4 separate regions of the Homo sapiens genome follow, and all the other regions are linked to region 4. Evidence: promoter capture Hi-C in 16 types of primary human blood cells and fetal thymus (Javierre and others, 2016). All regions are on one chromosome and are shown on one strand. Each heading gives the region's core, a stretch centred on a gene start or on the middle of the fragment in contact. The rest is flanking DNA. Distances are from core to core; before and after follow the strand shown.

Region 1 (2,965 bases), core at 370-2,869, 180 kb before region 4:
GGGGGCTGTGTGTACGCACATGTATATGCACAGACGCCACACACATGCGCGTCTCATGAGAAGATGTTTATTTCGTACATGGACGTACAAACATGCATGGCCAAGAGGATCCCATCGCTACACGTGCACAGAGGGGGTCACACGGTGGGTGCGGGGGGTCTGGGCGCTCCCCTCAATCTGAATGACCTTGAGGAAGCTCCACCTCCCCGCTGCCCCCCCAGCCCATCCCTCAGCTCCTCTCCAGCCCGGGGGTGGTGCCCAGTGCCCCTCAAGGCAGGCCCTTCCCGCCTTGACCTGCATTCCCCTGCCCAGGGACTCAGTGCAGGGCCCAGCCCTGTGCCAGCAGGCGCTTCCTGCCCCAGCCCTGATGAGGCTGGCTTGGGTCTCCACTGTGGACATCACACTGGGCTGCGGCTTTCCGGCCTCCAGGCTGGACCAGGAGGCCCCGTGACCCATTCCGCCATCACCCTGGAGGCCTCTAGGAACGGCGTCCTAAAGCCATGCGCCCCCAGGAGACCCCCGCCCACCTTGAGACAGCTCCTCCCCCTGCGCACCTGGCAGCCCTCAAGGGTGGAAGGCGGCTCGCGGCCTGCGTGGGGCTGGTTCCCCCGCGCCCCGAGTGGGCCCCGCCACACATGTGCGCTCACGCGTGTCGAGCCGGCGCCGGTTGTGGACTCACCGGCCACAGTTGCAGTGGCAGACGCGGTCCTCGCCCCGCAGGTGCGGGAGGATGTAGTTGTGGAATCGGTCCAGCAGCGCGTTCATGTCCATCAAGCACGCGATGGCCTGGAAGAGCTCATGACCGGTCAGCGCCAAGGAGCGGGCGGGACGAAGCGGGGCTGGGGGTGGGGAGCGCAGGCCGGGGTCGGGGCAGCGCAAGCGGGGAGCGAGAGCGCAGGCCGGGGTGAGGGGAGCGTAGGCCTTGGTAGGGGGAGCGCAGCGGGTATGGGGATCGCAGGCTGGGGAGGGGAGCGCAGGCCGGGGTGGGGGGAGCGCAGGCCCGGGAGGGGACCGCGGGCCGGGGAGGGGGAAGCGCAGGCCGGGGTGGGGGGAGCGTAGGCCGGAGAGAGGAGCGTAGGGAGTGTGGGGATCGCAGGTTGGGGAGGGGAGCGGAGGCCGGGGTGGGGGAGCGCAGGCCGGGGAGGGGAGCGCAGGCCGGGGAGGGGAGCGCAGGCCGGGGAGGGGAGCGCAGGCCGCACGGGCGGTAAACAAGGCGCGGGAGGTGGGCCAGGCGGCGCGCGCGGGCGGGGAGCAGGGGGCGCGCGCGGGAAGCCCCTCCGCTCACCATCACGACCGACGCCCCCAGAATCATGAAGATCATGGTGTTCGCGCTCATGGACATCGGGCGGGGCCGGGCCGGGCCGGAGCGCCGCCCCCCGGCCCCGGCGCCCCCCCGGCCCCGGCCCGATGCTGAGCCCCCGCCGCCTCCGCAGAGGTCAGCGCTTCCCTGGATCGTCCGCCGCCGCTCGCTGCAACCCCGGCACCGGCCGGGGGGAGGAGGCGCGGGGGGGGGGGCGCCGGGGAGGGACGCGGGGCCTTTCTGGGGTCTCTCGGCCCGGCCCGCCGCGCTCCGCTCCGCCCTCGGGTCCTCCCTGCGATGCGCTCGGCTCGGCTCGACTCGGCTCCGCTCGGCTCCGGCCCCCTCCCTGCCTCCTCCTCCCTCCTCCCCCCTCCCTCCCCGCCGCCTTCCTCCGCCTCTCGGGAGGGACCGCGCAGACCGCAGGCCGCCCCGTGCCAGCGCCGGGAGGAGACCGCCATCCCCCGGACGCCGGCCGGGACCCCTCCCCGGGAGCCTCGGCTTCGCGTCCCGCCCCAGTCTGGTCAGACCCAGCCCCGGTGGCCTGTCCGGTGACCCTGGACGCCAGTCCTCCGGTCCTGGAGGGGCGCCGAGGCCCTTCCCGCCCCACTGCTCCGCCCTACGTCCTGGACTCCCAGGTCGCCGGGTGCGGGACTGCCCCAGTCCGCTCGGCACGCACGTGCCTCCAGGGTGGGGTCCGCAAGGTCGCGACAGCCCCACGGCCGTGGGGGCCACAGGTCAGGGACGGGATGACCCCTGGAATCCTCAACGGAGGGATGTGGCACAGGAGCCGAGGGCAGGGCCGCCCCGCACAGGCTTCCCTTAGGGCGGGGACGAGGGGGTCAGCCCAGGCCCATGGGTCGGGACGCCGGCCATTCAGAGGCCCAGTGGCCACCACTCCGCTGTGGCTGTCCCTGGCTCGGGGTCCTGAGGCCAAACTCTCATCCACGACCGGTGACCATGTCTCAGGCCCGGGAGCCGACCCCCGGCCTCAGCAGGAAGTCAGCGGGAAGCTATGCCTGGGACCCAGCCTGGGTCGTGGCGCCATCCAGGCTCACTGCAGCCTCCACTCCTGGGCTCAGGCGATCCTCCCGGCTCAGCCTCCCCCGTAGCTGGCCTTGGGGGATCCCCGCCCGGGGGGGTTCCACATGGAGAGGGGACGCCGCTCCACCACAGGCAGCAGTTGTGGCAGGAGCAGGCGGCTTCCGCTTCAGGCAGCACAGGCACGGGTAGGCCCAGACCCTGTCAGCACCACCAGGTCTGAGCTACTCCTCCCAAGCAGTGGTCGGAGGTCACTGAGGGCGGCAGGGCTAGGCCTCTGCCACCTCCTCAGGGGCGAGGGTCGGGCCAGGAATTCAGGACCAGGCACAATGACAGCAGCATCTGTTTATTGACAATTCCAGGTCATTCCTAACACGCCGCAGCAGGGCTCTGTACAGTCCGGCCCGGTGGGGAGGAGGGAGGGAAGGCAGGCACACGAAGACACAGGTATGTCGGGAAGTGCACACAAACCGTTGTCTTTCCTTTTTGGTTAAAGAAGAAAAACTTTGTAATCAATATCCTGCTCATAAGTAAAAGTGGAAAAGAAGAAACTTGATTGCTTTCATCTGGCGTTTTGGCATCTCCTCTCCCATTTCATATGCACAGTTTATTTGGGTAATGCTACCG
Region 2 (3,310 bases), core at 417-2,916, 170 kb before region 4:
GCAAAAAGAGCAAAACTCTTGTCTCAAAAAAAAAAAAATTTCATTTTGATAGCGAATGCTTTTTTGGCAAAGCACAGAGGCTGCACAAACAGAACTCAGGAACCCCTCGAAAAGGTCTCATGGCCATCTCTGGAGCTGCTGGGCACCCAACTGTAACCGTGGCCTCAACACAGAGCCACACAAGGCTCAGGCCAGCTCTGGGGGGGTCCACCATGGCCTTGCGACTGCAGGCACCGTGAAACTACTTTGCAAAAGCATCTCACCTGCTGCAGACTAGGTGAAAACTCACAGGCTTGTGGGCCCTGACCCTGGGCTACCTCTTGAAGACGAAGGCACAGTCAGCACAGCTGCATTCTGTCCAGACCCTCAAATGACCACCAGCAACTACCTCAGCCAGTCAGCTCCGTTCTACCTCTGTCATCTCAGATGAGAAGAGCAGGCCAGTATCTCTGGCCTTACCTGAAATATCTTAAGGCCGTAATTTACATTTTAGGCATGAATGATTTTCTAAAACCCACGATCAGAGTTTCTCTGGGAATCGGCGTCTGGCTTAGGAACACATTCATTTGTTTGACAAATACCTTCCCAAAACTATTTTAAAACACAGCTGCTGGGCGGGACGCAGTGGCTCACACCTGTAATCCCAGGACTTTGGGTGGCCGAGGCGGGTGAATCACTTGAGGTCAGCAGTTCAAGACCAGCTTGGCCAACATAGTGAAATCCTGTCTCTACTAAAAATACAAAAATTAGCCGGGTGTGGCAGTGCATGCCTATAATCCCAGCTACTCAGGAGGCTGAGGCAGGAGAATCGTTTGAACCTGGGAGGCGGAGGTTGCAGTGAGCCGAGATTGCACCACTGCACTCCAGCCTGGGCGACAGAACAAGACTCTGTCTCAAAAAAGTAAATAAATAAATAAATAAATAAAGCTTCATATCAGCATTTCCTTTTTGGGAACTATACTATTCATCTGAATTAGCATATATATATATATGGGGCCGGACACAGCGGCTCACACCTGTAATCTCAAAACTTTGGAAGGCCAAAACAGGTGGTTCACCGGAGGTCAGGTGTTTTGAGACATGTCTGGCCAACGTGGTGAAACCCCATCTCTACTAAAAATACCAAAATTAGCCAGGCGTGGTGGTACGCCGCACCTGTAATCCCAGCTACTCAGGATGCTGAGGCAGGAGAATCGCTTGAACCCGGGAGGCAAAGATTGCAGTGAGCCGAGATCACGCCATTGCACTCCAGCAGGGGTGACAGACTGAGACTCCATCTCAAAAAAGAAGTCTACCACATTTTACTCTGAGACAAGGAAATGTCCACAGGGAAGTGGCCACACACAGAAGTTAACCTAAAAGACAATGAATTCAGAGGACGGACATGAACAAATGTGCAATTTAAAACACAGGCCAGGTGCAGTGGCAACCCCTATAATCCCAGAGCTTTGGGAGGCCAAGGCGGGCTCATCACATGAGGTCAGGACCAGCCTGGCCAACATGGTGAAACCCCATCTCTACTAAAAGTACAAAAATTAGCCAGGCGTGGTGGCACATGCCTGAAATCCCAGCTACTCGGGAGGCTGAGGCAGGAAAATCGCTTGAACCCAGGGTCGGAGGTTGCAGTGAGCCAAGATCGTGCCATTGCACTCCAGCCTGGGCAACAGAGTGAGACTCTGTCTCAATTAAAAAAAAAAAAAAAAGCTGGGCATGGCATAGGCCTCTGGTCCCAGCTACTGGGGAGGGTGACGTGGCAGGATCACCCACCTGAGTCTGGGATGCCCAGGCTGCAGTGAGCTGTGACAGCACCACTGCATTGCAGCCCACACGACAGAGAGACGCCCTGTCTCAAAACCAAATAATAATAATAATCCAAACCCCAAACGTCATTAGAAAAAATTAGGTAATTAGAAAAAAATCCACAAGAGAGGTACAAACAGTATATGCCAGACACAGGCTTGGTCTCCAGCTGCACGGCCAGACGAGACCCAGGAAAGTGTCAGATGCACTTGCGTTTCACAGGACAACAGTCACATTAACATTTAGAGCTACACGTTTACTTGCTTTTGAAGACAAGTGGTTTTGCAGTTCATAACACAAAAAGCTGGTAAACCTTCACTAACTTACATGTACACAGGATGAACTTTCTGTAGGATCCTGTGAGACTCCCACACACCTTCTCATGTGGCTGAATGGGCTTCCCTGGAGCGGGGGAACTGTCCAGGCCGGTGTCTGCCACCCCAGCCCTCCTTTCACAACGGCCTCTCCCTCCTCCTCTACCCTCTGGGCCAGCGGCTGTTGCCTGGACCCCCTCACTGGGCTGAGTGACACTTCACTAGGTCAGACTGGCCATTCACTAACTTAGAAACAGAAGTCACTTGTCTTCTCCCCAAAGGCACTCCAAGCAAGCTTGGGATGGCTTAACCAGACTCCTTTCAATCAAAAATGAAAAAATCCTGCAAGAAAGCTCAACTATGGAAAGTGGCTTCAGTGTAAAATGAAAAAAAATAGAGAAGCCTCTGCACGTGACCCTGGGAGCCAGGCTCAAGCCCCTCGGCAGGACACCCAGCGCAAAGCTGCTCTACTCCACGTGCCACTGAGGCTGAGCGAGGAAAAGTCATGGCAAAGAAACCTGGGACTTAGAAATAGTTCCACGCATGCTCAGCGAAAGAACAAAAGGCTGCATATGAACTGGACAGTGTGGAATGAGCAGACCTGTAGCACGGGAAGCAGCTAAACTGGACGGTGTGGAACGGGCGGACCTGTAGCACGGGAAGCTGCTACAGGCACTGGGAGGAGAATGGGCAGCAGCAAACGGCCTTGGGAGACGAAAAGCGTCTCAAAACCAATTGTGGTGACGGCTGCAACTCCATGAATGTCCTGAAACCCACAGAACTGGACACGCGACTCAGGGAAGTGCATGATTTGTACATTTTATCTCAATAAAAACAATTCTTGATAAAACGGTCAGTCCACCCAAGGAAAGAACCTACACAGTAGAGTTCCCATTTGTCTACAAAGGTCAGGGGAGCTTAGATCCCCGTCCCTGGTCCAGGTATATACACTACTACTATTATTACTACCCTGGCTGGAGTCCAACAGCACAATCTCAGCTCGCTGCAGCCTCTGCCTCCTGGGTTCAAGTGACCCTCCCGCCTCAGCCACCTGAGCAGCTGGGATTACAGGCACACGCCACCACACCCAGCTACTTTTTGTATTTTATTTTTGGAGACAGTTTCATTCTGGTTGCCCAGGCTGGAGTGCAATGGTGCAACTTCGGCTCACGGCAACCTCCATCTCCCAGGTTCAA
Region 3 (3,013 bases), core at 400-2,899, 210 kb before region 4:
TGGCTCACGCCTGGAATCTCAGTGAGGCCAAGGAGAGTGGATCACCTGAGGTCAGGAGTTCCAGACCAGCCTGGCCAACATGGTGAAACCCCATCTCTCCTAAAAAAAAAAAAAAAAAAATTAGCCGGCCGTGGTGGCAAGTGCCTGAAATCCCAGGTACTCAGGAGGCTGAGGCAGGAGAATCACTTGAGCCTGGGAAGTGGAGGTTGCACTGAGCTGAGACCATGGAATTGCACTGCAGCATGGGCAACAAGAGTCAAACTCCCTCTAAAAAAAAAAAAAAAAAAAAAAAGGGCCAGGTGGCACATGCCGGTGGTCCCAGCTTCTTGGCTTGGAGGCTGAGGTAGGAGGATCGCCTGAGCATGGGAGGCAGAGGTTGCAGTGAGCTGAGATCGCACCATTGCACTCCAGCCTGGGTGACAGAGTGAGACCCTCTCAATAAATAAATAACCAAAACCTTGATTACAGCCATGGGGTGGGGGTGGGGGGACGTCTGGCTATTGCTGGGGAAGTCATTTGGTTTTTCTCCTCCTCTCCTATTTTTTTGGTACAGACGGGGTCTCTCTTTGTTGCCCAGGCTGGTCTCCAACTCCTGGGCTCAAGCAATCCTCCTGCCTCGGCCTCCCAAACTGGCGGGGTTACAGGCGTGAGCCACCGCGCCTGCCCTGTTTTCTTTTTCTTTTTTTTTTCTTTTCTTTTTTTTTTGGCGATGGAGTCGTGCTCGCCCAGGGTGGAGTGCAGTGGCCTGATCTCGGCTCACTTCAACCTCCACCTCCAGGGTTCAAGCAGTTTTCCCGCCTAAGCCTCCGGAGTAGCTGGGATTACAGGCGCACGCCACCATGCCCAGGTTAATTTTTGTATTTTTGACAGGGGTTTCACCATGTTGGCCCGGCTGGTCTCAAACTCCTGTTTTCAGGTGATCTGCCCACCTCGGCCTCCCAAAGTGCTGGGATTACGGGTGTGAGCCACCGCGCCTGGCCGGCATTTTCTGGCTTTTTTTTTTTTTTTTGACAGAGTCTGACTCAGTCGCCCAGACTGGAGTGCAGTGACGAGATCTCGGCAGCTCACTGTGTTATATGTAAATTTTCTGTGCCGCCAAAGAAGTAGAACTCGAATATAAATTTTTCTCAGCTAGATAATTTACTTCTATAGAAGGGGACATCTCATAGATGGAGCAATGGCGAGCGCTTGGACAAGGGAGGGGAAGGGGTTCTTATTCCTGACGCGGGTAGCCCCTACTGCTGTGTGGTTCCCCTATTGGCTAGGGTTAGAATGCACAGTCTAAACTAGTGCCCATTGGCTATTTTAAAGGGAGCAGGAGTATGGGCCAGAGTGGCGGGGTGAGTGGTTTGGCGGGAAAAATGGTTATGGGACAGGTAACTAAAGGTGACTCAGGTCAAAGCAGGAGACCGGGATTAGTTAGGACGGAGCAGGTGACCAGGGCAACAGATGTCAACTACTGACTAGAACTGGTGGAAAAGGTTGTTTACTGAAACTGCGAGGAAGGTAGACTTTAAAATGCAGGACAAAGACTGAACATACTGATATACTGATTCTTTGAAGGGAAGTTTAGAACTCATTGTATCTAACATTATTCAGGCTTAAAACAGTTTCCAATCCAGTGGGAAAAGTCACTCCATATATTCCGTGAAGTCAACCAGTTCCATCAAGGAGAAAGTCAGGGCCGCTGGGAGCGCGTGGACCGTGGGCTCCGGGGCGGCGCCTGCCCGGGCACCCCGGCCCCGTCCACGCCCCGCAAGAGGAGCTCGCTGGCCCCGCCACGCGGGAAGGGGTCGCCCCGGGGTCTTGGGCGGGAGGGCCGTGCGGGCTGCGGAGACACCGAGGAGGGGAGGCGCCTCTCCTGAGCTCTTGGCGCAGCGACCCCAGGGCGCCGACTCATCGCGGAAGGGCTCGGCTTGCCCGGGCGCCGGTGCCGCCTCGGGTGAGGTTCCCGCGAGACTCTTCTCTGCGTCCTGGACTCACCGCAGGGCGCCCCGCCGCACGGATCGAGAACCTTGGGGCTCCCTGGAAACTTGCCACCCGCTGCCGCCAAGGCCGGAACTCCTCGGAGCCCCTAGCAACGGAGCCCCTAGCAACGGAGCCCACGCGGATGCGGCGCGGGGCTGACGCTGCCTTGGGTTCGCCTACGTCCCTCGGGAATTTTGTCCCGGCGTGGCTCCCGTAGCCAGATGCTTCGCCGCTCCCGCCCCGCTGGCTCCCAAAGCCTGTTCGGCAGTCGCGGCGCCGTCGCTATGGCGTCACTGTCCTCGGGGCCAATCCAAGGGCTGCGCGCGTGTCCCTTACGCGCTTCTATCGCCGGGAGGAAGGGGTGTGTGTGGCGCCTGCGCAGTGGCGGTGACCACCGGCTCGCGGCGCGTGGAGGCTGCTCCCAGCCGCGCGCGAGTCAGACTCGGGTGGGGGTCCCGGCGGCGGTAGCGGCGGCGGCGGTGCGAGCATGTCGTGGCTCTTCGGCATTAACAAGGGCCCCAAGGGTGAAGGCGCGGGGCCGCCGCCGCCTTTGCCGCCCGCGCAGCCCGGGGCCGAGGGCGGCGGGGACCGCGGGTTGGGAGACCGGCCGGCGCCCAAGGACAAATGGAGCAACTTCGACCCCACCGGCCTGGAGCGCGCCGCCAAGGCGGCGCGCGAGCTGGAGCACTCGCGTGAGTGCGGCGGGGCGGGGCGGCGCGGGCGGGCGGGCGGGACGGGCCGGGGAAGCGGGAGCCCTGGCCCTTGCCGCTCCTCGCCGCTGTCGGCAGCCACTTCCCGGGCGAGACTGCGCCCCCGGAGCACCCCCGGCCGGAGCCGTGTCGCGTGCCGGGAGGATCGGACTCTTTCCGTCACCCGTTTGCACCTCTGCAGCTGTCAGGAGCGGGTCAGGTGCGGAAAGCGGTGCGGAGGTGGCGCTCATAGGTTACAGGGGTCAGGGTCTGGGGCTGGCCGTGGTCTTCAGTTACCGCCGAGCGTGCGGGATCCTTCTGCGCTTGCCGCCTCCACGTGGCACAGGCCAAGGCGT
Region 4 (3,297 bases), core at 582-3,081:
GCTTTAGTGTGTTAAATCTGCCTTTAATGTCAACTGAATATTAGAATACATTTTGGGCTCACCTGCGACATTTGGAAGTACAAAAGAACTTCACCGAAGAAGCGTTGTTCTAATGGAAAAATGAGGGCAAAGAAATTAAATCTCCTTTAAGAAAACCACTTACTTAAAAAAATATGGCTTACATTTTTTAAGCGTTTTATCTCTGCTTTCTCCTCTTGTTCCTTCCTTCGTTTCTTTTCCTGAAGAATTTCATCTAAAGTTTTCACTTTCCAAGAGTCCTTTTCATCACCCATTTGAGTTAAAACACTGCAAAAAGAAAAATAATTCAGCCTACATCAGGACACAGCAAGCTATGGTGCTGAACACTTGAACCTAGTCACTTTTGAGGGATTCAGAATAAATCCTCATTAAGAATAAGAAGTTGTGCCCGGCGCAGTGGCTCAAGACGGTAACCCTAGCACTTTGGGAGGCCGAGGCGAGCAGATCGCTGGAGTTCCGGAGTTCAACACCAGCCCGGGCAACATGGCAAAACCTCGTCTCTACAAAAAATACAAAAGTTAGCCCAGTGTGGTGGCGCGTGCCTGTATTCCTAGCTACAGGAAGGAGGCTGCTAGAGGCAGGAGGATCACTTGAATCAGAGAGGTCAAGGCTGCAATGAGCCAAGACTGCGCCACTGCACTCCAGCCTAGATAACAAAGTAAGACTTGGTTAAAAAAAAAAAAAAAAAAAGGTAAGCTCTAGGCTGAGGCGGGTGGATCACAAGGTCGGGAGGTCAAGACCAGCCTGGCCAACACGGCGAAAACCCTGTCTCCACTAAAAATACAAAACTTAGCTGGGCGTGGTGGCGGGTGCCTGTAATCCCAGCTACTCGGGAGGCCGAGGCAGCAGAATCGCTTGAATCCGAAAGGCGGAGGTTCCGGTGAGCCGAGGTCGCGTCACTGCACTCCAGCAAGACCCCGTCTCAAAAAAAAAAAAAAAAAAAAAAAAAAAAAAAAAAACAAGAATGATAAGTTGTAAGCCAGGCAAGGTGGCGAGCGCCTGTAGTCCCATATACTCTGCAAGCTGAGATGGGAGACCGATTGAGCCCAGGAGTTCCAGGCTGAAGTGCGCTTGTGAACAGCCACTGCGCTGCAGCATGGGCGACAAAAAAGAGTGATGGGTTCTGAAAAATGACCGCTTGAAATCAAGTCTCGTTTCTGTCATTCTTGTATGGTCTTGGGTAACGTAATTCACCTCAGTTCAGTCTTCCGTACAACCAGAATAACAACACCTACGTGATAGTATCGATCGCGGATTAAAGATCATCCGTTTAAAGGCTCTTAACTCAGGACCTGCCACTCATCAAACACTGCTTTTACTGTCAGAATCTGCTAGAAAGACCGCTTGGACTACGTGAAGCCACTAGCACACTGGACAGCTGCACCTTGAGACCGGGGAGATGCTCCGAGATGTGCTCGCGAACAAGGCCACCTGACCCGGGCACTGGGCTATTTCCTCGGGTTCAGTCCCGCACACTTGAGGTTCAGCCTGGCAGACGTTGGCTCCAGACAGCGTTTGGACCCGCCGCCTCCACCACCCAAAGTTCCGTGCGGGATGAGACTGTCCGCGGAAGCGAGGGTGTCGCTCGCCCCCGGGCCCGGGTCCGCCCCGCTCCGAGGCCTGCTCGGAAGAAAGACCTCGGTGCGCAGTTCTCGTCGCGCTCCCACACCTGGTCCGCCCAGTCGGAACTCACCCCTACGGGGCCGCGGCCGGTCCCTGAGCCTGAGAAGAAACAGCAACCGGCGCTCGCCAGAAGTATCCTCACTTCCTGTGTTGACGCCTAATGATGATATAATAGCCGACCTCTGGCCCAGAACTCAAGACGACAGGGGCTCGCTCTGTGCGGCACTTCCTGTGTCTGCGCGGGATGATGACGCATAAAACAGCGCTTGCTCAGGTCCAGGACTCCAAAAGAAACTGCGCCGTGAGCTGCACTTCCGACTTCGGCGCGGGCCGGGGCGCCGAGCAGAGCGACGCCGACTTTTGGAGCAGTTTGCGCCTGCGCGGAACGCGTGGCCGGCTTCCGGAATCCTACCGGGACTTTTCCGGTAGCGAAGCCCGCGCCTGTGCCAAGGCTTGCGAGCAGAATGCCTTCGCGATGGACGCCCGCATTCCACCCCCTTGACCGCTGGGACCCCTAGTGGCGGGTGGGTGGAGCGCGCTCCATTTACCTGCTGGTTACCTCGTGAGGCGCCTCAGGTCTGTGTGTCTTGTAAAGGCCGATCTCGGAATTTAACTCTGAACCTTACTCAGAAACAAAGCAGGGAGAGCTCTTACGATGTGATTTTATTTTATTTATTCATGTATTTACTTTTGAGTCGGAGCCTTGCTCTGCCGCCCAGGTTGGAGTGCAGTGGCGTGGTCTTGGCTCACTGCAGCCTCCTCCCGGGTTCAAGGAATTTTCCTGCCTCAGCCTCCCGAGTAGCTGGAACCACAGGCCCGCGCCACCACGCCCGGCTAATTTTTATATTTTTGGTAGAGACGAGGTTTCGCCATATTGGCCAGGCTGGTCTCGAACTCCTGACCTCAAGTGATCCGCCTGCTTCGTCCTCCTAAAGTGCTGGGATTACAGGCGTGAGCCACCGCGCCGGGCCTTTTACAATGTGATTTTGAAGCTGACACTGGCAGTGGGTCCTCAAAGTGCAGACTCACTGGGTATGGTGCTTCCCCCAACTCCCAGGGCCCCACTCCAAACCCATGGATTCAGAGCATTGCAGGAGAAGAGGATAAAACGAGCAATTAATTCCCTTTCCATATGTCAGGTTTTCCTCTTGCCTTGAAAAGTCACAGAAAAATGCTTTAGACATCTGAATCTCAGGAAACAAACAATGGAAGATAAACATCCGCATTTACTGGGCCTGAAATGGGAAAATGAAAGATGTGGCAAGAAACTGACAAGGGCCCAAGAAGGGCGATGGGTATCGGAATTCTTTTCATCCCGGAATGAAATGCTGCTTGCTTTGTGTACCCAAGCTCTTTTTTTATTTTTATTTTTTTGAGACGGAGTCTCGCTCTGTTGCCCAGGCTGGAGTGCAGTGGCGCGATCTCGGGTCACTGGAAGCTCCGCCACCCGGATTCACGCCATTCTCCCGCCTCCACTCCATTCGCCCGCATTAGGCTCCTGAGTACCTGTGACTACAGGCGCCTGCCACCATGCCCGGCTAATTTTTTTTTTATTTTCGGTAGAGACGGGGTTTTACCGTGTTAGCCAGGATGGTCTCAATCTCCTGACCTCGTGATCAGCCTGCCTCTGCCTCC

The links. Contacts are between HindIII fragments. The CHiCAGO score rates a contact against its expected background, and 5 or more counts as called.
Region 1: the fragment with the promoter of TMEM240 here is called in contact with the fragment with the promoter of CDK11A in region 4 in 5 of 17 cell types (M2 macrophages, M1 macrophages, M0 macrophages and 2 more); the score reaches 7.4 in M2 macrophages.
Region 2: a contact is called between a fragment that was not itself captured here and the fragment with the promoter of CDK11A in region 4, in 14 of 17 cell types (naive CD8 T cells, M1 macrophages, M2 macrophages and 11 more). The highest score is 9.8, in naive CD8 T cells.
Region 3: a fragment that was not itself captured here is called in contact with the fragment with the promoter of CDK11A in region 4 in 4 of 17 cell types (M1 macrophages, activated CD4 T cells, M2 macrophages and 1 more); the score reaches 5.7 in M1 macrophages.

What each region holds. Positions count from the first base shown.
Region 1 is chr1:1,539,005-1,541,969 of GRCh38, forward strand. It overlaps TMEM240 (transmembrane protein 240), which reads right to left and starts at 1,620. Exons shown (of 4, transcript NM_001114748.2): 1 at 1,286-1,620; 2 at 680-786. The coding sequence starts at 1,342. SSU72 (SSU72 homolog, RNA polymerase II CTD phosphatase) reads right to left here. Exons shown (of 5, transcript NM_014188.3): 5 at 2,669-2,965. RefSeq lists a silencer at 205-499. The HindIII fragment of the contact is 17,050 bases long and covers 1-2,965 here.
Region 2 is chr1:1,556,518-1,559,827 of GRCh38, forward strand. The region is part of intron 2 of SSU72 (SSU72 homolog, RNA polymerase II CTD phosphatase); the gene reads right to left. Among named protein-coding and RNA genes, the nearest start is that of SSU72, 17 kb to the right of the region's middle. The HindIII fragment of the contact is 1,482 bases long and covers 926-2,407 here.
Region 3 is chr1:1,509,814-1,512,826 of GRCh38, forward strand. It overlaps ATAD3A (ATPase family AAA domain containing 3A), which reads left to right and starts at 2,349. Exons shown (of 16, transcript NM_001170535.3): 1 at 2,349-2,660. The coding sequence starts at 2,456. RefSeq lists silencers at 1,657-1,856, 2,307-2,466 and an enhancer at 2,097-2,156. The HindIII fragment of the contact is 8,392 bases long and covers 1-3,013 here.
Region 4 is chr1:1,722,526-1,725,822 of GRCh38, forward strand. CDK11A (cyclin dependent kinase 11A) reads right to left here and starts at 1,832. Exons shown (of 20, transcript NM_024011.4): 1 at 1,733-1,832; 2 at 183-306. The coding sequence starts at 293. RefSeq lists enhancers at 1,715-1,944, 1,925-2,764. The HindIII fragment of the contact is 24,282 bases long and covers 1-3,297 here.